Linked DNA regions of Homo sapiens: all the other regions are linked to region 3. The links are contacts of gene promoters, found by promoter capture Hi-C in blood cells and fetal thymus (Javierre and others, 2016). All regions are on one chromosome and are shown on one strand. Each heading gives the region's core, a stretch centred on a gene start or on the middle of the fragment in contact. The rest is flanking DNA. Distances are from core to core; before and after follow the strand shown. Region 1 overlaps EEF1A1 (eukaryotic translation elongation factor 1 alpha 1). Region 2 overlaps PNISR (PNN interacting serine and arginine rich protein). Region 3 holds the start of SNHG5 (small nucleolar RNA host gene 5). Region 4 overlaps KLHL32 (kelch like family member 32). Region 5 overlaps UFL1 (UFM1 specific ligase 1). Region 6 has its middle 2.9 kb from the start of SLC17A5.

Region 1 (3,885 bases), core at 974-3,473, about 12 Mb after region 3:
CATGATTACAGGGACATCTCAGGTTGGTGGGATTAATAATTCTAGGTTTCTTTATCCCAAAAGGCTTGCTTTGTACACTGGTTTTGTCATTTGGAGAGTTGACAGGGATATGTCTTTGCTTTCTTTAAAGGCTGACTGTGCTGTCCTGATTGTTGCTGCTGGTGTTGGTGAATTTGAAGCTGGTATCTCCAAGAATGGGCAGACCCGAGAGCATGCCCTTCTGGCTTACACACTGGGTGTGAAACAACTAATTGTCGGTGTTAACAAAATGGATTCCACTGAGCCACCCTACAGCCAGAAGAGATATGAGGAAATTGTTAAGGAAGTCAGCACTTACATTAAGAAAATTGGCTACAACCCCGACACAGTAGCATTTGTGCCAATTTCTGGTTGGAATGGTGACAACATGCTGGAGCCAAGTGCTAACGTAAGTGGCTTTCAAGACCATTGTTAAAAAGCTCTGGGAATGGCGATTTCATGCTTACACAAATTGGCATGCTTGTGTTTCAGATGCCTTGGTTCAAGGGATGGAAAGTCACCCGTAAGGATGGCAATGCCAGTGGAACCACGCTGCTTGAGGCTCTGGACTGCATCCTACCACCAACTCGTCCAACTGACAAGCCCTTGCGCCTGCCTCTCCAGGATGTCTACAAAATTGGTGGTAAGTTGGCTGTAAACAAAGTTGAATTTGAGTTGATAGAGTACTGTCTGCCTTCATAGGTATTTAGTATGCTGTAAATATTTTTAGGTATTGGTACTGTTCCTGTTGGCCGAGTGGAGACTGGTGTTCTCAAACCCGGTATGGTGGTCACCTTTGCTCCAGTCAACGTTACAACGGAAGTAAAATCTGTCGAAATGCACCATGAAGCTTTGAGTGAAGCTCTTCCTGGGGACAATGTGGGCTTCAATGTCAAGAATGTGTCTGTCAAGGATGTTCGTCGTGGCAACGTTGCTGGTGACAGCAAAAATGACCCACCAATGGAAGCAGCTGGCTTCACTGCTCAGGTAACAATTTAAAGTAACATTAACTTATTGCAGAGGCTAAAGTCATTTGAGACTTTGGATTTGCACTGAATGCAAATCTTTTTTCCAAGGTGATTATCCTGAACCATCCAGGCCAAATAAGCGCCGGCTATGCCCCTGTATTGGATTGCCACACGGCTCACATTGCATGCAAGTTTGCTGAGCTGAAGGAAAAGATTGATCGCCGTTCTGGTAAAAAGCTGGAAGATGGCCCTAAATTCTTGAAGTCTGGTGATGCTGCCATTGTTGATATGGTTCCTGGCAAGCCCATGTGTGTTGAGAGCTTCTCAGACTATCCACCTTTGGGTAAGGATGACTACTTAAATGTAAAAAAGTTGTGTTAAAGATGAAAAATACAACTGAACAGTACTTTGGGTAATAATTAACTTTTTTTTTAATAGGTCGCTTTGCTGTTCGTGATATGAGACAGACAGTTGCGGTGGGTGTCATCAAAGCAGTGGACAAGAAGGCTGCTGGAGCTGGCAAGGTCACCAAGTCTGCCCAGAAAGCTCAGAAGGCTAAATGAATATTATCCCTAATACCTGCCACCCCACTCTTAATCAGTGGTGGAAGAACGGTCTCAGAACTGTTTGTTTCAATTGGCCATTTAAGTTTAGTAGTAAAAGACTGGTTAATGATAACAATGCATCGTAAAACCTTCAGAAGGAAAGGAGAATGTTTTGTGGACCACTTTGGTTTTCTTTTTTGCGTGTGGCAGTTTTAAGTTATTAGTTTTTAAAATCAGTACTTTTTAATGGAAACAACTTGACCAAAAATTTGTCACAGAATTTTGAGACCCATTAAAAAAGTTAAATGAGAAACCTGTGTGTTCCTTTGGTCAACACCGAGACATTTAGGTGAAAGACATCTAATTCTGGTTTTACGAATCTGGAAACTTCTTGAAAATGTAATTCTTGAGTTAACACTTCTGGGTGGAGAATAGGGTTGTTTTCCCCCCACATAATTGGAAGGGGAAGGAATATCATTTAAAGCTATGGGAGGGTTGCTTTGATTACAACACTGGAGAGAAATGCAGCATGTTGCTGATTGCCTGTCACTAAAACAGGCCAAAAACTGAGTCCTTGTGTTGCATAGAAAGCTTCATGTTGCTAAACCAATGTTAAGTGAATCTTTGGAAACAAAATGTTTCCAAATTACTGGGATGTGCATGTTGAAACGTGGGTTAAAATGACTGGGCAGTGAAAGTTGACTATTTGCCATGACATAAGAAATAAGTGTAGTGGCTAGTGTACACCCTATGAGTGGAAGGGTCCATTTTGAAGTCAGTGGAGTAAGCTTTATGCCAGTTTGATGGTTTCACAAGTTCTATTGAGTGCTATTCAGAATAGGAACAAGGTTCTAATAGAAAAAGATGGCAATTTGAAGTAGCTATAAAATTAGACTAATCTACATTGCTTTTCTCCTGCAGAGTCTAATACCTTTTATGCTTTGATAATTAGCAGTTTGTCTACTTGGTCACTAGGAATGAAACTACATGGTAATAGGCTTAACAGGTGTAATAGCCCACTTACTCCTGAATCTTTAAGCATTTGTGCATTTGAAAAATGCTTTTCGCGATCTTCCTGCTGGGATTACAGGCATGAGCCACTGTGCCTGACCTCCCATATGTAAAAGTGTCTAAAGGTTTTTTTTTGGTTATAAAAGGAAAATTTTTGCTTAAGTTTGAAGGATAGGTAAAATTAAAGGACATGCTTTCTGTTTGTGTGATGGTTTTTAAAAATTTTTTTTAAGATGGAGTTCTTGTTGCCCAGGCTAGAATGCAATGGCAAAATCTCACTGCAATCTCCTCCTCCTGGGTTCAAGCAATTCTCCTACTTCAGCCTCCCAAGTAGCTGGGATTACAGGCATGTGCTAATTTGGTGTTTTTAATAGAGATGAGGTTTTTCCATGTTGGTCAGGCTGGTCTCAAACTCCTGACCTTAGGTGATCGCCTCGGCCTCCTAAAGTGCTGGAATTACAGGCATGAGCCACCATGCCTGGCCAGGACATGTGTTCTTAAGGACATGCTAAGCAGGAGTTAAAGCAGCCCAAGAGATAAGGCCTCTTAAAGTGACTGGCAATGTGTATTGCTCAAGATTCAAAGGTACTTGAATTGGCCATAGACAAGTCTGTAATGAAGTGTTATCGTTTTCCCTCATCTGAGTCTGAATTAGATAAAATGCCTTCCCATCAGCCAGTGCTCTGAGGTATCAAGTCTAAATTGAACTAGAGATTTTTGTCCTTAGTTTCTTTGCTATCTAATGTTTACACAAGTAAATAGTCTAAGATTTGCTGGATGACAGAAAAAACAGGTAAGGCCTTTAATAGATGGCCAATAGATGCCCTGATAATGAAAGTTGACACCTGTAAGATTTACCAGTAGAGAATTCTTGACATGCAAGGAAGCAAGATTTAACTGAAAAATTGTTCCCACTGGAAGCAGGAATGAGTCAGTTTACTTGCATATACTGAGATTGAGATTAACTTCCTGTGAAACCCAGTGTCTTAGACAACTGTGGCTTGAGCACCACCTGCTGGTATTCATTACAAACTTGCTCACTACAATAAATGAATTTTAAGCTTTAAGATGAAGTGGCATTTCTTTTAACAGTTACTATGTTGGAATTGGTTACAAATTTTGGAGTGGATTTCAAAAGTGAGAGCTAACTTCAGTTGATTTCAAGGTAGTGCTTGGCTTTTTTTGTTTAGACAGGGTTTTACTCCTGCCCTGGTTGGAGTGGAAGTTAACGGCTAACTGCAGTCCTGACTTCTGGGCTTAAGTGATCTTCCCTGAATAGCAGGGACCACAGGTTTTTGCCACCACGCCTGGCTAATTTTTGTATTTTGCCATGTTGCCAAGGC
Region 2 (3,724 bases), core at 804-3,303, about 14 Mb before region 3:
TTACAGGTGTGAGCCACTGCACCCAGCCTGGAATTTTGTTGAAGTTTTGATGTTACAGAAAAATGTTCAAGATACTTTATTCCTTGAAATGGCTGCTCTGATGTCTAAAAATATTTTATAAAATGGTTTTGTGGCTGGGCACGGTGGCTCACGCCTGTAATCCCAGTGCTTTGGGAGGCCAAGGCAGGCAGATCACTTGAGATCAGGAGTTTAAGACAAGCCTGGCCAACATGGTGAAACCCCATCTCTACTGAAAATACAAAAATTAGCTGGGTGTGGTGGTGCACGCCTGTAGTTCCAGCCACTTGGGAGACTGAGGCAAGAGAATCACTTGAACCCAGGAGGTAGGGGTTGCAGTGAGCCAATATCACGCCAGTATGATCCAGCCTGGGCAACAGAGTGAGACTGTCTGAAAAAAAAAATGGCTTTGCATTTTAATATTTTTGAAGATGTCACACTATTAGTAGCTATAATAATTAGAAATACTGTATAAAATGCTCTTTTTTAGATGTTGCTGACAAAAATGCTTCTAACAGAAATTCTGCTGGATGTCACAGATGAAGAAATTTATTACGTAGCCAAAGATGCACACCGCAAAGCAACGAAAGGTATATTTTGGTGTTTCTGGTTTTGCTTTTCCTGGGGTATTTTGGTTCTGATGACTATTTTGGCCTTTTTTTGTTGTCCTTGTTGGATTTCTACCAGATATTTGAATATTCTCTTGCATGTTTTAACTCTTAAAGATTAGATTCGTAGACACCATATTAAAGCTATACAAATATTTTTGTTTTATCTGACCTACATGAGTACAAATTAGCAATCATGCTGTTTTCCTCTAAAATGTATTGTGGAAAATTCCAGGTGTTCAGTTTATTTCACCTGATTTTTTTTAATAGATAACATGGCATTGTTGTGTGACTTCTGATACAGTTTATTTTGACTAATGAATTTTGAATTATCTACCTACAATTTTTAGTTTACCACTTATCTCTTACAGAAGCAAGTGATTTCCTACCCCTAGATTTTTAGTAACACCTTAAAAATGTATTGAAAACAAAAATTAAGTTACATGTCATAATCTCAGAAGTAGACATACAGATATACCTGTCAACATTTTTTCTCATTATAAACCAATTTCAGCTCACATCAGAGTTATAATTTCAAAGCCAGACATGATACTGGTTTAAAATGAATGTTATGTTTTTAATGTTTCTTCTCTCCCCAAAAAGCAGCAATAGTAGTAGATTTAACAATACCATAGACTCATGACTATGAAATCGTGGCTATTTGTGTTAACATGTTGTTCCTGTTGTTGATGTGATACAAAGCTCCTGCAAAACAGCTGGCACAGTCCAGTGCACTGGCTTCCCTCACTGGACTCGGTAAGTGTTTTCCATATTTGTGAGAGGGCCTAAAGGGAAAAATCACACATACATTGTCTCTCTGCGTGTTCTATTTTGAAACTGTATTAGTCCTACTCAGTTTATAAAAACCTAGGTCTTAGGGTTATGTCATCCTGTCTAAAAAGGTTTGCCTATTTTTTTGACTAACGCATTCACAGTGAGAAATTTATAAATGTGATGGTTAATTCATAGTTTATTGGGGCAGGTTATATTGGAAGATTTCCTTATTGCTCCAATATATGCATTTTATATATATATAATTATATATGAACACCTATAGTTTGTACTTAATAATTCATAATTTAGCCATGATAGTATCTAAGCTCACTTTCAGAATTATTGCATACATGCCTTAGGGAAGAACCTATCCACTAATGCTTTTAATAACTTACATAGATTGTGTTGCGGCAAGTCAAGTTTTAATATAGAGGAAAGGGTTTATCTTATCATAGTAAAATAGTAGTGATGTGTTCATAATTTACTATTTGCATGGTATATTATCAAGGCTGTAAAAGCTTGAATTTGCCTTTTCCACATCTTCATTTCAAATTAATTTTTGTGAGGACCCAGAGAAGTGGGTAGAACCAAATGCCCATGTGGTTTTGTTATGGTTATTTAGATCATTTCAGGGTGGGGAGTATTTTCAGCACCATAATATTTCTGTACCAGGGAGATTATAGTATTCTAATTTTTTTAGGGAAAAATTGCTTAGCTCTAGGGATTTCTAAACTTTGAACAATAAAAGTTAATTTTAGAAATACTTTCAGGGTCATCATTAAGCTTTAGCGTGGCTTTGTTACTGCCCTGTTAAGTAGTTTTGTTGGTTAGTATGGACAGTACAGCAAACCCATTATCATTCCTTTACAGTGAGAAAAATATGAAATAGTCCAGAAAGAATAAGATATTAAGTAACCTTTGCCTGAAGGTTCTGTGAACTCCTTAAGCGTTTGAATGTATACTTCTCCCCACCCCGAATAAGCGTATTCTTCTGGGAAAAGGCAATGAAAAAAGAAATGAACTTTCTTCTCAGACCTTGAAAAGTTTTTAGTGCATAGTATAATTTTTTTCATATGATAGACTGAGCTTTATGCACACAGGTGGACTGGGTGGTTATGGATCAGGAGACAGTGAAGATGAGAGGAGTGACAGAGGATCTGAGTCATCTGACACTGATGATGAAGAATTACGGCATCGAATCCGGCAAAAACAGGAAGCTTTTTGGAGAAAAGAAAAAGAACAGCAGCTATTACATGATAAACAGATGGAAGGTGTAGTATACCTTTTAGACTTAATTTTGGTCCAGTTTTGTATTTCTTTTTATTTTTTAACTAACCTAAAAATATCAAAGGATAAAATAAAGGCTATATTATAAATAATATGTGATATAACTGAAACTAAAGTCACAATTTTTGTTTGGTTGTTTTAGGAGCCATTTATTGCAGTGGCTATAAGCCAAGCTATTTAGGGTATTTTTATTTCTTGCTAAAAGTCTTGAAATGAAAAAGATGACTTTTGAAATGGGAAAAATATATTTGTAAGACTATTGAAAAGTAATTTGTAGCTAGGATATATAAGGATAATAGAGAACCTAGAAGTTTTTTACTTAAGATACTTTACCTAATACTAGGAATAACAAAAGAGAAAATTTACTTAGAATTTCTTCTTTGAAAAATCTAAGGTAATTAAGAGTTAGCAGCTAAGACTTCTCTATAAACCACTTACTTACCTTTAAAATTTTGCTTTAGTTGGACAAAAGGGAAGTCTTTTCCTACTTGCCTCACACCCACCTCTACATCTTGATACTGTATTTTGCTACACTGTCCAGGAGGGTAACGTAACTAACTACAAGCTATAGAGAACTTGAAATGTGGCTAGGCATGTGCTGTGGGTATAAATTACATGCTAGATTTCAAAAACTTTACTTGAAAAAGAGAACAGAATTTTTTTAAATTTATTATGTGTTGAAATGATAATATTTTTGGTATATTGGGTTATTTTACCTGTTTCTTTTTACTTTTTTAATGTGGTTACTAAAAAATTTTGAATTACTTACATGGCTTGCATCGTAATTCTATTGAAAATGGTGTTCTATTGTTACAGTCTGGTAGCTTGACATTTGGTAGTATGAGAATTTTACATGAACATTTTCTTAGTGTTTTTGTCTTTTTCTGTTTCAGAAGAAAAGCAGCAAACAGAAAGGGTTACAAAAGAGATGAATGAATTTATCCATAAAGAGCAAAATAGTTTATCACTACTAGAAGCAAGAGAAGCAGACGGTGATGTGGTTAATGAAAAGAAGAGAACTCCAAATGAAACCACAT
Region 3 (3,538 bases), core at 602-3,101:
TCACTTGATCCCGAGATTGCAGTGAACAGAGATAGAGCCACTGCACTCCAGCCTGGGTCACAAAGTGAGACCTTGTCTGGAAAAAAAAAGTCATCTATATGTACTGATATGGAAAGATGTTTATGATATTTACAAGACGGACAAACAAGTTGCAGAACATATAGATCCCATTTGTATGTGAAAAACGAAGTACATATATTTGCATTTGCATAGGAAGTCTCAAAAACTGTTAACAGTGGTATTGCTGAAGAGTACAACTAGGGAGAAGATTCCCAGGCATGTGGAAAGATACTTTCACTTTGCTTTTTTTGTTAACTCTTTTTAAAAATTTTTTTAATACAATAGAGACAGGGTCTTGGGCTCAATCCTCCCACCTCAGCCTCCAAAAGTGCTCTAATTACAGACATAAGCCACCACACCCGGCCTACTTTGCTTCTTATATCCTTTTGTACTGTATTGTTTGTTTTACTATTTACTATGAGCAATATGCAAATTTATGTAAGACATTACAAAGTAATACAAAAACCGACAAAATGCCCGGCCCAGTCAATACTTCATCATATAGGTTCCTGTTAGAGAAAAGTGCTTTTCACTACTATCTTTGAATGTGAAGTTTGATCTTCATTCTAATTTTCTAAAAAGCCACCGAATGTATTTGTTCATTCATTCATTCATTTAACCATTACCGACAACCTACTTAATGCTAGGCACTGTTCTAAGAAAAAATAAACAGCAGAGCACGAAATCAGATGTGTTGCTCCCACACTCTAGCAGAATCGGACCGTAATCAAATGCACACATAAACAACTTTAATAAGTAGTGCTTTGAAATATAGAAGTGAAGAACGACCTGAATTTTCAAATACTGAAATGTTCAAATGTCGTGTGCACACACACACACGCAGACATATTCACTCGAACATGCTAATTAATCAAAGCACTGCTTTTGAATTTTGTGTTTGTCGTCTGGATAAAGTATTCAGGGATACTTCTCAAATTAATCTTTCTCTCGTTTTCAATATAACTAATTGAGTACAAAGAAGTTAAAAATTAGCAAAGCATTTCAGCTGTGTGACCTTAGGCAAATTACCTGGCTGTTTTAAGCCTCAGTTTTCTCCTCTGCGAAATGGAGTATTGAACCTCACGTTCGCTGTTTGAGGGAGACTTGTATGGTCACGTTTAGTGTAACCGGATGCCTGGCACGAGGAAGCGTGAGGAGGAATGGATCCCCATGGGGCCTTGATGCCCGCCCTGAGGCCCTGCAGGGCCGCACGCCGGGGCTGTTCTCACGTGGCGCTTTCCGCTTTTTCACCCAAGCGTTTCTGCCAGCCAACTGCCCTTTCCCGGAGTGCTGCGGCCAGGGCTCGCCCGCTCCTCCGGCGGCCTCCGCTGGGGGCCCACTACAGCCCAGCGCCAGCCAGCCAGCCAGCCCAGCTTCTCGAATCGGTCCTAAGCTGAGGCCGCCCTGCGCTGCAAAACTTGTGTCCACTCTCGGACCCAATCTGTCCTGGACGGACTTGGCTCGTGGCAGGCGAAAGCGTCGTTTCCAACTGCAGCTGTTTGAATTCTGGCGCCACACCCGCGCCACGTAGGGCCAAGTCGGCCGCCAGACTCGTAAGAGACGCTTCGCAGTGCGCCTGCGGGCGCGCGCCGGGAAATGGCCGGGCGCGCGGCCGGCCTGCGGCGCGCTCCACAACGCGGAACGGGCCTCAGAAGAGCCACCGCGCGCGCTCCCGCTAATTCGCGACCACACCCCTGTCTACTTCCATGTCCAATAGGTGCGAGAGGGCGGGACGGCCTCGTTCTGACTCCGGGAGGCTATATAAGGAGCTACTGGCTGCGCACTTCGGTCTTTTACGTCGGCCTTCGCGAGCGTCTGGGCGGGTGGTAGGTGAGTGGGTATTGCGGGCTAGTATCCGAGCAAAAGATGGTGGCGCAGGCCGAGTTAAGAGCTTTAATCCTGTGAAGACATCTTAGTGAAGAGTTTAGAGTGCTGAGAGTTGAAAGCTTGCACGTGGGAAACGTGCGGCCGGACTGCCACATGTACTGAGGTTGAGTCGTGACGGCCACAGGCTCCGAGTTTTGGCGTGAGGAACCGCTGATCGGCCACGGGCGCCGAACTTGCTGGCCTCCGGCATGTGCCTGAGCGGCGGCGGAAAAACCACCTTAATTGGGGCGGAGGGTTAGTTTTAACAGCAAAGGGCCTTTACTAAAATGGCGAAGGCCTTCCGTCGGCGTTGTTTTAAAATGGGAAGCCTCGACCCTGTATTGAAACTGAGCTGTTCGAAGGCGGCGTTGTGTGCAATTCGGATTAATGAAGGGGAAGGGTTTTGTGTGGAAAAACGCCTTGGAGTGTGACATTTCTGCGAGAATGCTTAAATACCGATTTCCCGCAGGAACAATGGCGCTGTCTTCAGTGGCACAGTGGAGCAGCTCTGAAGATGCAAAGGTAAGAGCTTAGTTAAGCTTAGTTTCCAAACTAAAGGAGTAAACCTGTTGATTTACAGGAATAGGAACTGTTGCATCGTTTGAAATTTACTTTTTTTTGTTAGATACACGAAAAAACTTCCAGAACATCTGGGAGAATATTTAATGGAAAATCGCTTGGTTAAAACCTGACACTTTTAACAGGTATGTGTTGTTTTAGTACTTTATGATTGAGCATAGCATTTAATCCACACCTAGACTAAATCAAATTTTTTTTGTCAGTGAACAGCGTTCTGAGTGTGGACGAGTAGCCAGTGAAGATAATGAATGTCGAATGTGACTGACTAGCAGCTTCATTTTGAAGTAGGTTGTATGGCTTAAAAGTTCTGTAGTATTTGTACTATAATACTTGCCTTTTAGCATTACCTTGGTTTGTAGTCAGTGTCACAGAAGTGCAGTTTAATGTATTATGTGTACATATACAAGGTCTGATTGGTCTAATCAATGATGAAACCTATCCCGAAGCTGATAACCTGAAGAAAAATAAGTACGGATTCGGCTTCTGAGATTAAGACCAGTAATTCAGAGGTGGAGTAAATTTTGTTGCCGTGATTTTATAACAGTTGTGTTATAAAATCCTGGGTTTTTTTTTTTTCTGCCAACAGTGAGGGTCGCTGTCTGCCCATTGATAGAGGCCAGATTGTCTTGGAAGTTCCAAAGTTGCAACGATTTCTGTAAGTGGAGTTTTTCTGTTTGCTTAGAGATCAGTGAATATTGTGTCCTTGGTCTTATCTGTGATGATCTTATCCCGAACCTGAACTTCTGTTGAAAAAAAAAAACTTTTACGGATCTGGCTTCTGAGATGGACCGTTATAAGGACAATATTTTTTTTTAATACTTTTAATGCTTTTACATATGTTGTAATGTTTGTAGTCTTGTAAGAATCTCGTGTTTTTCCTTTTCTAGGGCTAGTGCCACGAGGTTTACTTGACTGTTGTGTGAAAAGCTGATAAGAAAACCATCCAGAAAAAAGCTCTTCGTTTTACAAACATGAAAATAAAACATGTAATTTTGGATTATGTTCCTTTTTGTTATTACTTTTAAATAGGTCC
Region 4 (3,771 bases), core at 619-3,118, about 11 Mb before region 3:
GAAAGGCTAGGAGGTCTGTACCCGCCAGGTACTTGATGCTGCCACTATTAATTCTACAGAGAACACAAGGGGCAGCTCTGTGCTTTTTGCAGATGTGGACCCCTGAAGAGATCCTATGATAGAGCCCAGAGAGCTGCCTGGGTAGGAGGAAACTGACTGACCCTCCCTCCTTTTCCTTGTGACCAGGCCGATGCTCCAGGAGCTGCATAAAAGAGGGAACAGTGGCTTGTCAGAGAGAAAAGACATCATTGAGTCCAAGCTATGCATCCCTCTCCCTGGGAGAGCCCATCTAAGCAGCGTACTGCATCACTAAAAGCTCCATAGCATAATGAGGGTAGCTCTGCTCCAAGGTCGGCACACCAGATTAAAACATTTTATATGGCTCAGGAAATTTAAATGAATTCCACCATCATTTTGAGGAAGGCAAAGGAGTGGGGAAAGGGGAGGCAGAGGGAAGGAATTAATAAGTACTGAGATTTTATTACACACCAACAATGTACTAGATGTTTCTATGCATTTCTTATTTAATCTTAAAACAACTCCATAATCTAGGTAACATAATTCCCATTTTACAGATGAGGAAAATGAGAGTTAGAGGGGATATGTAACTGGACTGTGAGTCACAGAACCAAGAAGTATCAGATTTAGTATTCAAATCCAGGCTCCAAGGCTCAGGTTCTTCTGGTTGTGCCATGCTACCTTGCACTTTCAATTGTAGAACTAAAAATCATAAATAATAAGGTTTCTAAGTAATGATTTTAAATGAGGTATCAGAATTTGTGTCATAAAAAATTGCAAAATGCCTCCTCCACTGCTCTATTGTCTGTGCCATTAGCATCAAATATGTTCTCACTGAAGCAATCAGCTAGGATGGGACTTCTTTTTCCATCAATATCTTGTATAACAAACGGGTTGTATCATCTGGGTGGGGAAGGGAGGGGGTAGCCTGCTTCTAAGTAACTGGTACTGGCTTATCTGGCATGGAAAGTAGAATACATTATGCCTCAAATAAACATGTAGGAAAATGTTGTCAAGAGTCCATGAAAACTGCCAAAGACATTTCTTCTTCATTTAAAAATTATCTTATCAGGTTGGTGACTCCAACCTTGCAAGGGAAGAAGCTATTTTAGACAAATTTACAGCTTTCAATGCTTTCTGCCATATGTGGAACTAATCTGACTCCAAGTCAAGTCTGCAAAACTGTTTTTTTTCCTACATAGTTCGTTTAAAAATCTCACCAAAACTTATAGTGCCATATGTCAAAATCAAGTTAAATTAAATACATTAATGCATTGCAATGTGTATACGAAATAGGGAAAGAACAAAAGAAATATGAAGAAAGTTGAGCATTTCACATTGCTCAGCTCCTCTTAGGTAAAGATCTTGACAAGAAGGGCCTGGGAATGAAGGTTCTGATTAGAAATGCCAGGAAAAAGGTGAACAAAATGAATTCTATTTACTAATTCTCAACAACAGAGAAAGTAAAATGTTCTAGGATAAATTCTTAAGTTCTGCTCTACAAATTGGAAAACAATTCTGAAATAATAAGCAGTCTTATAGGCAGAGAAGGGAAGTAAGACACTGCCTGGCACAGAGACATAGCCACATCTATCTCTGCTGTCACCAAAAAGCCCCTTGCTTATTAAGAAAGATGGGCTCCTTACAGTATCATTTTTTCATAATATTTTCCATTACTTGCCAAATATATCTGTGAAGAGCAAATCATCATATTGGCTTATATTGTACTTGATAGGAATTAAAATCCCTCCAACTTTAAAGTAAATTCCTGTCATGACAAATATCCCCAGTGCTAGACTCTAGCTATGACGCCTTCTATTTTATTTCATCCTGTTACCTTGTGCTGAACATTCTAACAGGTAGCTCTCCCACCCAGTCACTGAAGATCTAGTAGTTAAATGCAAGTCTAACTCCCACTTGCTTGTCACATTTCTTTCATATCTCTACTGATGTAATAAATAAAAACATTGACCCAACCAGGATCAAGATTATAGTACATTTATCTGTCACCAAAGCCTTCTGTCTAGATTTGAGTACAGCTTTTCAAATGGTTTACAGCCCACATTTTTCCTTTACTTGTCCCAAACATATAAGACTTCATCAAAAGTATATGCAACCTTAAAATCTGTATCTGTAAGAGCCTCCTTAGCCTCCAAGTCTATGACTCTACTAGAAAAAAACGATTACATCTTTTATCATCTAATTTGCCAGAATCTTTTCCCATTTTTGAAAATCCATATATTTACCCACTCCAAATGAATTCATATAAAACGTGTATGCTTTTTCTATAGAAAAGTGATATCATGAGAGGAAATTATATACCAGCCATCAGACATTAAAAATGTAGACACATCATCATGGTTTATGGGTATTTATTGTGTGCCAGTCTCTGTATAGAGAATATAATACTTGGTTTGTCCCTTGACTTTATGTTCAGTCTTTAGAAGAATCAGTACTACATTCTCCAGATTCTCCTCTATGGCTACAACTCCTCTCCTAGTCTCCTTCCCAAATTTGTCTTCCTCCATCCCCTCCCACCCATCCGCAGTTGCATCCTCTGCTGCACTCCATCTTCCAGACCATAGTTCTTCCACAGCTTTCATCACTCGCTCAGCTACAGTAAGCTCATCAATATTAGGTATCACTAGCATCATCCTCTTAACCCACATTTCCAACAGACTGTCTGGTGGAGACTCCCATCTTTCAATAGCTATAAGGATTTTCATTTAATATAATCATACCCAGCCATCAAGTTCCAGCACTAATCCCCCTACTACCTAGGGACTGACCTGATCTCCACAATCAGAACATTTAAAATTTTTTCCCTGTGTCTGAGCTTCTATGGAATCTTATATTTCCATTGTAACATTTAACACATAACTCCCTCAAAATCACAATTATGTACATGTCTATAACCTGCATTAGGTAACAGTTGAGAAGAAGGAATGTGAAAAGAGAAGAGCAGCTGAAGTTGCAAGATTTCTTTCATTGCTCCAATTGGACTTCACAGTCTTAGATCCTCCATCTGTAAAATGGAAATAAGATGCCCACTTTATAGAGTCATTGTGAAGCCGATATGGAAGTAGCTTGCTCACAGAAGAGCTCGAAAAGTGGACGCTGCCAGGAGCAGTGTGTTTGCTCTGAATCATTGAGGGCAGAGACGGTATCTCCATGCACTCAGCCAGGACTTTGTTAGAACATTACTAACACACACCTGCATAGCTCCTTACTAGAGGTGCAACATATTTCCATGAAAGGAAAACTGAAATGGCTTTATTTACTGTTAAGGCATCTTTCCAGAGGGGGATTTTGGAATAAGAGAACCATGAGAAGTCGCTGTTCAAATCTTTTGGCTTTTCCTTTTAACTACACCTCTCTGGATCCACCAAAGAGACAATGTAAATAAAATGACACTCCTCTCTGACTACTTACCTACTTCAGTGAAGTCCACTAGCATCTCTGTAGCTCTAGGAGAAACACGAGAAAATGGCAGCTTCTCAAGACGTATTTACCTCACTACAAGATAGTTATTAAAGGAGTAAACATTTTGTATACCAGGGTGCTGGGATTTAATGTCTCTGAGTTCCCACTTATGTTTTCATTCCTTTGGCATCTTGCAGTATTCAGTGGTGGGTTTTACCTAATTATCTAACACTTTAATCAGACATTTTCATTAAAGGCTCAGGATGCTCCATTTGCTGACCAATCCTACGTCTTCCTATAACAAGCACTCAACTGAGTTTTTCTCCACTT
Region 5 (3,994 bases), core at 295-2,794, about 11 Mb before region 3:
CTGAAACATATTAAAAACTACGTTTCTAAAATGTATTCAGAAACAGTTTTATAAGAAATCATTTGGATTTGAGCTGGATACTTTAAAGAAGTATTTTAAAAATATATTTTTTGTCCTGTGATTAACATATGTTTGCCCATGTAAAATATAATTTCAGCTCCTGAAATACTACATAAAACAGATCTATACTATAAATGGTATTTTAAATGGAATTAGGGAAGCTCATTTTCTTAATATGAGTAAGTAAATCTGCTTGTATTATACATTAATCTCATGCAATTACGGTTTGGCCAATTTTGCAAGTTGGAGTTTCTTAAAGTGATAGATACCTAAAGAGAGATTTGGCTTCTCCCTTGTTTCAGTAAATATAAAAAGAACTAGCATTATTTAGTTTCTCCATTGTGTTAAGATATTTCACTAGATTTCAATGAAGCCTATAAAAAAGACAATATTTCCTGTTTTACAGATACATAATGTGAAGCATAAAAGAGATGAAATGATTTTCCTGATGTCAAATAAGTGGTGCAGACAGTATTCAAATCAAGGTCTTTTAAAAATCTCAAAAGCTTATGTCCTTTCCACTCTACCAAATGAATTTCTATGATTCTAAAAAAACAAACAAAAAAAAACAGAAAAAAGTAAACAAGAAAATAGCCTATGTTTTCAGGCAGCATTGTTATCACACATAAGATATTTGAGTACTGACACAAATACCTAAAGTTAAGAGAATGTCAGATTCCTTGGTTCTTCTTCCTATCATACTGACTGTTTAGAAGAGGATAAATGGTGAAGTCAAAAGATGTTGGCATTACTGACAGTTGGAACAAAAAAATTCTTTGTTGGCAGGATGTTCTGTACATTGTAGGATGTTTAGCAGCATCCTTGACCTTTACTCACAAGAAGCCAGTAGTACCCCCTATAAATTATCTTCATCAATTATTTCTTAAAATTTAACTGGGCAATCAGAAATTTAATTGTCTGGTTACAGTTTCTATATAGCTGGTATCAAAAGCATTAAATAAATCCATGCATTTATTGTACATTTGCTAATTGCATCAAAGCAGCCCTAGAACTTAGTCTATAAATTAGTTTTAGGGTGTCTCTTGGTTTAGGATGATTACAATCATTTTTAAACTGCCTCCTCAGAACCATTAATGTACTAGAAGTACCCCCCAAATATATTGGTACAACATATATCAAGTCAGACACCTGCAATAAATCAAATGATGGTGAGGAAGTCTCATTTTTTTTTCCCCCTTCCATTCAAAGTCTTCGTTTAAAATCCTTTGGTAAAAAGACACATTGTATTATTAGGAAAAAAAATACCTGTGTCAGAAAGTTCCCAGGAAGATCATAAGTTTTACACAGTTCTGATATGGTGACCTGACCACTTTCTTGCAATTTATCATTGACCTCTTCTGCCAACCGATCCAAATAATTCCTAATAGTGAAAACAAGAAAATAATAGAAAAAAGAATTAGGAATGTTTTTTCTGTTTCCTCATTTTATGTTTAATTTCCGTTGAAATGAAGTATGCCCCAAAAGTAATGAAATGTGTGTGTACATGAACACCACTCATCACTCATATTCTAACAAATACTTTTTTCTCATTAGTGTAGCTAAATGTAAGATTAATCAAACAATACATTTTCTTTTTCTTTTTCTTTTTTTTTTTTGCATCAAGGTCTCACTCTGTCACCCAGGCTGGAGTGCAATGGCATGATTATGGCTCACTGTGGCCTTGACCTCCTGGGATCAAGCAATCCTCCTACCTCAGCCTCCTGAGTAGCTGGGACTACAGGTGCGAGCCACCACATTTGGCTAATTTTTTAATTAGCAAACTTAATTAGTGAAATGGGTTTTGCCATGTTGCCCAGGCTGGCATGCTGGGATTTTTTTAAGTGGAAATTTGTATTTGATTTTCATTAACATTTTTGGAACAAATTTGCTTTCAGAGTTAAGATTATACGGGAAGGAACGTAAAAGTTACGTTTTACGTTTTCTTATTAAGAAAAAAATAGAAGTTTATATTATTTCTAAGTATTCCATACATTAACACTGAATTTTTTTTTTTTTTTTTTTAATTTGAGACAGGATCTTTGCTATGTTACGTAGGCTGGTCTCAAATTCCTGGTCAAGCAATCCTCCAGCCTCAGCCTTCTGAGTAGCTGGGATTACAGGTACATGCCACCATATGTGGCTTAAACACTTACTTTTTAAGTGAAATAAACCTTATCATGAAAATCAACACTGTAAGAGTTATAAATGAAATGTCTAACTGGCCATAATTGGCCTAAATTTAAACACTATAAAAAAAAGAAAGAAAATAAACAAAGTGCTCTTAAATTTGTACTTTATTGTACTTACTCATCTATCAGTTGTCCCAACACTAACTGAACATGCTTTTCTGATTTAATAATGTCACCAATTCTATTTTCAATATGAATCAGGTCCACATTAATTACCTGGAAAACAAATACAAAATCTATTAATGATTAGTTTGTATTGTTTCTTAAGCTTGAAATTATATACTTAGAACTATATTTTTAAAGAAATTGCCGGCCAGGCATGGTGGCTCATGCCTGGATTCCAGCACTTTGGGAGGATGAGGCGGGAGGATCCCTTCAGTTCAAGAGTTTGAGACCAGCCTGGGCAACATAGGGAGACTCCCATCTCAAAAAAAAAAAAAGAAAGAAAGAAATTGCTTATTCTTAAATTTTGAATCAATCTGAAATAATACGAAAAGCATTGGCCAAATAAAAAATTAGAGGTGTATTGCTTAGTTATTTTCAGTTCTGAAGAATTAAACTGTCACTTGCTAGTAAGTTTATATAAAGCAGTAAATTACATATTCATATAACAGATAGCATTTTACAGAAAATTCGCTGGCTTCTTGTTTATAGTGTACCTTGGTAATGACATATATATTTGTATATTTTGAAAATAGCTTCTACTTTTAAAAATGTTTCTCTATTACTTTCATATACTAAAAACATATAAACATGAAACTGGTGACTTTTCTCCCAAAATGACATAAACTCTATACTTACATAAAATAACTATGAGTTCATTTGGTAAAAAGTTAAGAATAAGAAAGCCAACTAGGGAAGAGTTGGCCAACTCTTTAATAAGGCCAACTTATTAAATCATTTCAATAAATCCGAATTTATTAAATCATTTTAATGTATCAGAACTTGTTAAATCAATTCAGTGTATCAGCGAGGCTTATATAACTATTTCTTTATAAACACTACACAAAATATGATACCAGCATTAGTGAATACTTGAACAAATTCACAGTATCAAAAAATTGAGAAAGTAAAGCAAAAATTTTATAAATTTAAAACCTACCTGTTGTAGATCAACAATGTTTACTCGACCTTTGAAGAAAAGACATTCATTTATTTTAAATGATCTATGCGTACATACCAACCCAAAGCTATAAATTCTAACATTTAAGTTTTGGTCAAAGTCCTGCATAGAACAGAGAGCCAGAATAATCAATGTCTTCAAATACACACCATTAGCTGATGGCTAAGTCTTCATGGCTGAAGCCATAAGCAATAACTTACTTTCAATTTTTTTTTTTTTTTTAAATAACATCAGGCCAATTATGAGCACCAACTGGCACACAAATTGGCTCTATCTATGAAGGGTATTCATTTCCCTTCACAATTCAGAATTTATCTACTGTGATCAAAGAGATATTGACAACTAAATTAAGATGAACTTTTTTTCAATTATTTGATACTAAAAGGTAGGCTTCTACATATCAGCATAAGAAAATCTGTTAAGTAATTCAAATTATAGCTCATATTTTAAAGGTACTATGAAGGAAAATAGATAAATAAAAAAAGACAAAGACCAATGTTACACTCTGATAATATGAAGAGAGGCTTTCATAATTGCTTCTATTTTAATCAAATAGTATTCAAATATGCTTGGTAGTCTGTTCAAATTTTAAGAAGACAAAGGAAACCAACTTTGTGCGTGT
Region 6 (3,910 bases), core at 1,331-3,830, about 12 Mb after region 3:
CGTCTCAAAAAAATAGAATAAAATAAAAAATAAAAAAAAAATTAGTACCAACAAAAGAGCTTATCTCATTAATCATTTTATATTGATTACATGTTGAACTGATATATCGGATTAAAAATGCATGTCATACAATTAATTTCCCCATTTTTGTTTTGCTTTGTTTTACTTTTTTAATGTGGCTACTAGAAAATTTAAAATTACATCTATGGTTTGCATTATATTTCTACTGAACAGTGCTAGTCTAAAGTGTTGATAAAGGAAAAGTATCAACTAAAGAATAAATATGAGGCCGGGCGCAGTGGCTCATGCCTATAATCCCACCACTGTGGGAGGCCAAGGCGGGCGGACTACCTGAGGTCAGGAGTTTGAGACCAGCCTGGCCAACATGGCAAAACCCCGTCTCTACTAAAAATACAAAAATTAGCCGGGCGTGGTGGCACATGCCTATAGTCCCAGCTACTCGGGAGGCTGAGGCAGGAGAACTGCTTGAACCTGGGAGGTGGAGGTTCCACTGAGCCAAGATCGTGCCACTGCACTCCAGCCTGGGCAACAAGAGCGAAACTCCATAAAAAAAAAAAGAAAGAAAGAGAGAGAGAGAGAGAGACAGAAAGAAAGAGAGAGAGAGAAAGAAAGAAAGAGAGAGAGAGACAGAAAGAAAAAGAAAGAAAGAAAGAAAGAGAAAGAAAGAAAGAAAAGAAAAGAAAAAGGAAGAAATTGCAAGGAGAAAACATAAAGACATGTGAGAGATGTCTACGGTATGTGAGGTCTGAACATGAATGGATCCAGATTCAAACAAACCATGTAAGAAAAAAAAAAAAAAAAGACCAGGAAAGGAGAAAAAAAAAATAGGCTGGGCATGGTGGCTCACGCCTGTAATCCCAACACTTTGGGAGGCCGAGATGGTTGGATCACCGGAGGTCAGGAGTTCAAGACCAGCCTGGCCAACATGGTGAAATCCTATCTCTACTAAAAATACAAAAAATTAGCCGGGCATGGTGGTGGGCGCCTGTAATCCCAGCTACTCCGGAGGCTAAGGCAGGAGAATCGCTTGAACCCAGGAGGTTGCAGTGAACTGAGATTGCACCACTGCACTCCAGCCTGAGCAACAAGAGTGAAACTCTGTCTCAAAATAATAATAATAATAAATAAATAACACCAACAATGATCTTTTATGGTAGTGTGCAATCAGGAAATAAATGCCAGATATAAGGGGGAAAAAATGTGTCATCATACTTTTTTTTAATCTTCTTGGGGCCAGGCACAGTGGTTCACACCTATCATATCAATACTTTGGAAGGTCAAGGCAGGAGGACTGCTTGAGCCCAGCCTGGGCGTCACAGGGAGGCCCTGTCTCTAACAAAAATGTTTTTAAATTAGCAGGGCGTGGTGGCACATGCCTGTGGTCTCAGCTACCAGGGAGGCTGAGGTAGGAGGATCACTTGAGCCCAGGAGGTGGAGCCTACAGGGAGCCGTGATCACACCTCTGCACTCAAGCTTAGGTGACAGAGTAAGATCCTGTCTCAAAATCTTCTTGGGAAGATTATAAAAACAAAAACCAAAGTACCTCCTCTGAACCTAGAATCAATGACACTGCAATAGGAAGAAGTACACCCAATGCTCAGATGTTAGTTTGTAATATCATTCTCCTTATAGAAATGGCAGGGGTAGAGAATACACAAGATGAGCCTGGAACATCTTGTTGTACCAGAAAGTAAGGGAATGCTCAAAAAACACAACAATGGAGGCATGCAAGACACAAGAGCCAACTGAAAGAGCTCTTAGTCACCAAAGCTGGAACAATTTGAGCAACAAAATAAATAACATAGTGTTGGGAGTATAACCCAAAGTATAAAATAATAACCATGACATCATACTAATAAAAATAAATGATTGAATAAGTAAATAAATGTAGGAGAATAAACAAATCTCCCAAACAAAAGAATTCTTCCCCTGAAACTGGTGGAGTATAGATAACTCCCCACCCCTTAAGTGAAGGCTGCACATACTGATTTCCTTCCAAAGAGAAAAGTAAGGCCGGGGGAAAAGAGTTAACTTCACAGTGAAAACACCTGACAAACACAACCTCAGGCATGCAATGAGGCTTACCATCACTACTGATAAACATCAGTGATAAATAAGTTGACAGCACATTCCCTTGACATTACATGATGAGAATGGCCCTTTACCTCTATGACCTTTCCCTCAAAAATCCATAACCCCAGTCTAATTATAAGAAAAACATTCAGGCCGGGGGTGGTGGTTCATGCCTGTAATCCCAGCACTTTGGGAGGCTGAGGCAGGTGGAGGCTGAGGCAGGAGGTCAGGAGATGGAGACCATCCTGGCTAACATGGTGAAACCCCATCTCTACTAAAAATACAAAAAATTAGCCGGGCGTGGTGGCATGCACCTATAGTCCCAGCTACTCGGGACGTTGAGGCAGGAGAATCGCTTGAACCTGGGAGGTGGAGGCTGCAGTGAGCCGAGATCGTGCCACTGCACTCTAGCCTGGACGACAGAGCGTGACCTCGTCTCAAAAAAAAATTCGACAACCCAAATTAAGACACTTTCTACAAAACCTACCAGTACTCTACAAAACTGTCAAGGTCAGCAAAAGCAATGAAAGTCAGGAACTGTCGATCTAGAGGAGCCTAAGGAGACATGTAATGTGGCATCCTGGATGAGATCCTGGGACCGAAAAAGGATATTAGGTAAAAATTAAAGAAACGCAAATTAAGTATGAACTTCAGTTAATAATTATCTATACTGGCTCGTTAGTTATGATATATGCATGATACTAATGTAAGATCTTAATAATAGGTCAAACTAAGCAAAGGGTATGGAGAACTCACTGTACTATCTTTGCAACGTTTATGTAAACCTAAAATTTCTAAAATAAAAAATATTAAAAAAAAGAATTCCTCTGGTTTGAAGTCTTTCAAGTCTGTTGCAACTATATTCCCTGGCCCAAGTTATCTATAACCTTGGTCATCTGGGAGCTTGTTAGCAATACAGAATCTCAGGCACATCCCAGATGTACTGGGCTTCTCAGAGAAACAGCCCCAATTGGGTAGTTTGGGTAATAAAGTTTTGGCTTTCACAATATAGGCTGGCCAACTCGACCCAAAACAGATGATGGTGCACATGCCTGGAGACCCAGGAGGACCTGTGGTGCAGATGAAGTCTGAGGACACTCTGCTGGAGAAGTCTCCCTTGCTTGGGCAAGAGAAGTGGGGGAGTCGGATTTTTTATTCTAGATAGGCCTTCAACTGATTGAAGGAAGCCCACCCAGATTATGGAAGGCAGCCATCTTTACCCAGAGTTCAATGATTTTAGTGTTAACCTCATCCAAAGACAACCAGCAAGTTAACACATAAAATTAACCATCACACCAGATCTGCTGAATCTGAATCTACATTTTAAAAGGATTTGCCAGGTGACTCTGCATAATCCAGTTTGAAAATTGCATTTTTCTACAACCCTTAGAGAGTGTAAAAATCTACATGGTAATTCAGTAACTCAGAAACAAGGCTTGATTTGCTGCTTTAACTTGAGAACTTTTCTAGCATTTACTGATCTGGAGGTAGGGATGCCTACAGAAATCCTCGCCCTCCCTTCTAGGTAAAGGACCCTCCCCTTTGTTCTCACGTGAACCTCACTAAGCTTCTAACCTGGTTTACTGAATTAGTGGCTTGTGGGTCTTCCCTGTCTACACCAAACTCTCCGAGAGCATCTACATCTTATTTTCTACCTCCACAGAGACAGCCTTTATTGGCGGATCCAGATCTGCCCTGCCAAGGCAAGCTGGGTTTTCCTAGTTTCACTTTCAGAGTCCGCAAATGCTAGCACAATCTATCCAAATTCTATCGTGGAGATAAAGCATGCACACATACATCAGAGGATTCCATAGGT

The links. Contacts are between HindIII fragments. The CHiCAGO score rates a contact against its expected background, and 5 or more counts as called.
Region 1: a fragment that was not itself captured here is called in contact with the fragment with the promoter of SNHG5 in region 3 in 2 of 17 cell types (fetal thymus and non-activated CD4 T cells); the score reaches 7.8 in fetal thymus.
Region 2: a contact is called between a fragment that was not itself captured here and the fragment with the promoter of SNHG5 in region 3, in 1 of 17 cell types (total CD4 T cells). The highest score is 6.0, in total CD4 T cells.
Region 4: a contact is called between a fragment that was not itself captured here and the fragment with the promoter of SNHG5 in region 3, in 3 of 17 cell types (non-activated CD4 T cells, total CD4 T cells and naive CD4 T cells). The highest score is 10.0, in non-activated CD4 T cells.
Region 5: a fragment that was not itself captured here is called in contact with the fragment with the promoter of SNHG5 in region 3 in 1 of 17 cell types (total CD4 T cells); the score reaches 5.7 in total CD4 T cells.
Region 6: a contact is called between a fragment that was not itself captured here and the fragment with the promoter of SNHG5 in region 3, in 3 of 17 cell types (non-activated CD4 T cells, total CD8 T cells and naive CD4 T cells). The highest score is 12.5, in non-activated CD4 T cells.

The regions. Positions count from the first base shown.
Region 1 is chr6:73,515,474-73,519,358 of GRCh38, reverse strand. EEF1A1 (eukaryotic translation elongation factor 1 alpha 1) reads left to right here. Exons shown (of 8, transcript NM_001402.6): 3 at 1-22; 4 at 131-427; 5 at 511-661; 6 at 749-1,005; 7 at 1,095-1,329; 8 at 1,425-3,609. The coding sequence ends at 1,549. Among named protein-coding and RNA genes, the nearest start is that of EEF1A1, 3.6 kb to the left of the region's middle. RefSeq lists a silencer at 3,739-3,885. The HindIII fragment of the contact is 197 bases long and covers 2,125-2,321 here.
Region 2 is chr6:99,401,487-99,405,210 of GRCh38, reverse strand. PNISR (PNN interacting serine and arginine rich protein) reads left to right here. Exons shown (of 12, transcript NM_032870.4): 9 at 509-608; 10 at 1,329-1,382; 11 at 2,501-2,671; 12 at 3,581-3,724. Among named protein-coding and RNA genes, the nearest start is that of COQ3, 9.2 kb to the right of the region's middle. RefSeq lists an enhancer at 2,017-3,216. The HindIII fragment of the contact is 265 bases long and covers 1,921-2,185 here.
Region 3 is chr6:85,677,046-85,680,583 of GRCh38, reverse strand. It overlaps SNHG5 (small nucleolar RNA host gene 5), which reads left to right and starts at 1,851. Exons shown (of 6, transcript NR_003038.2): 1 at 1,851-1,890; 2 at 2,396-2,448; 3 at 2,552-2,630; 4 at 2,709-2,789; 5 at 3,092-3,160; 6 at 3,393-3,538. SNORD50B (small nucleolar RNA, C/D box 50B) reads left to right here and starts at 2,925; the gene lies at 2,925-2,995. SNORD50A (small nucleolar RNA, C/D box 50A) reads left to right here and starts at 3,216; the gene lies at 3,216-3,290. RefSeq lists enhancers at 1,881-2,040, 2,211-2,270. The HindIII fragment of the contact is 13,479 bases long and covers 1-2,008 here.
Region 4 is chr6:96,927,233-96,931,003 of GRCh38, reverse strand. The region is part of intron 1 of KLHL32 (kelch like family member 32); the gene reads right to left. Among named protein-coding and RNA genes, the nearest start is that of KLHL32, 4.4 kb to the right of the region's middle. The HindIII fragment of the contact is 4,655 bases long and covers 1-3,771 here.
Region 5 is chr6:96,523,768-96,527,761 of GRCh38, reverse strand. UFL1 (UFM1 specific ligase 1) reads right to left here. Exons shown (of 19, transcript NM_015323.5): 3 at 3,352-3,380; 4 at 2,368-2,465; 5 at 1,327-1,441. Among named protein-coding and RNA genes, the nearest start is that of UFL1, 4.0 kb to the right of the region's middle. The HindIII fragment of the contact is 1,951 bases long and covers 569-2,519 here.
Region 6 is chr6:73,654,901-73,658,810 of GRCh38, reverse strand. No RefSeq gene overlaps it. Among named protein-coding and RNA genes, the nearest start is that of SLC17A5, 2.9 kb to the right of the region's middle. RefSeq lists an enhancer at 3,615-3,704. The HindIII fragment of the contact is 2,167 bases long and covers 1,497-3,663 here.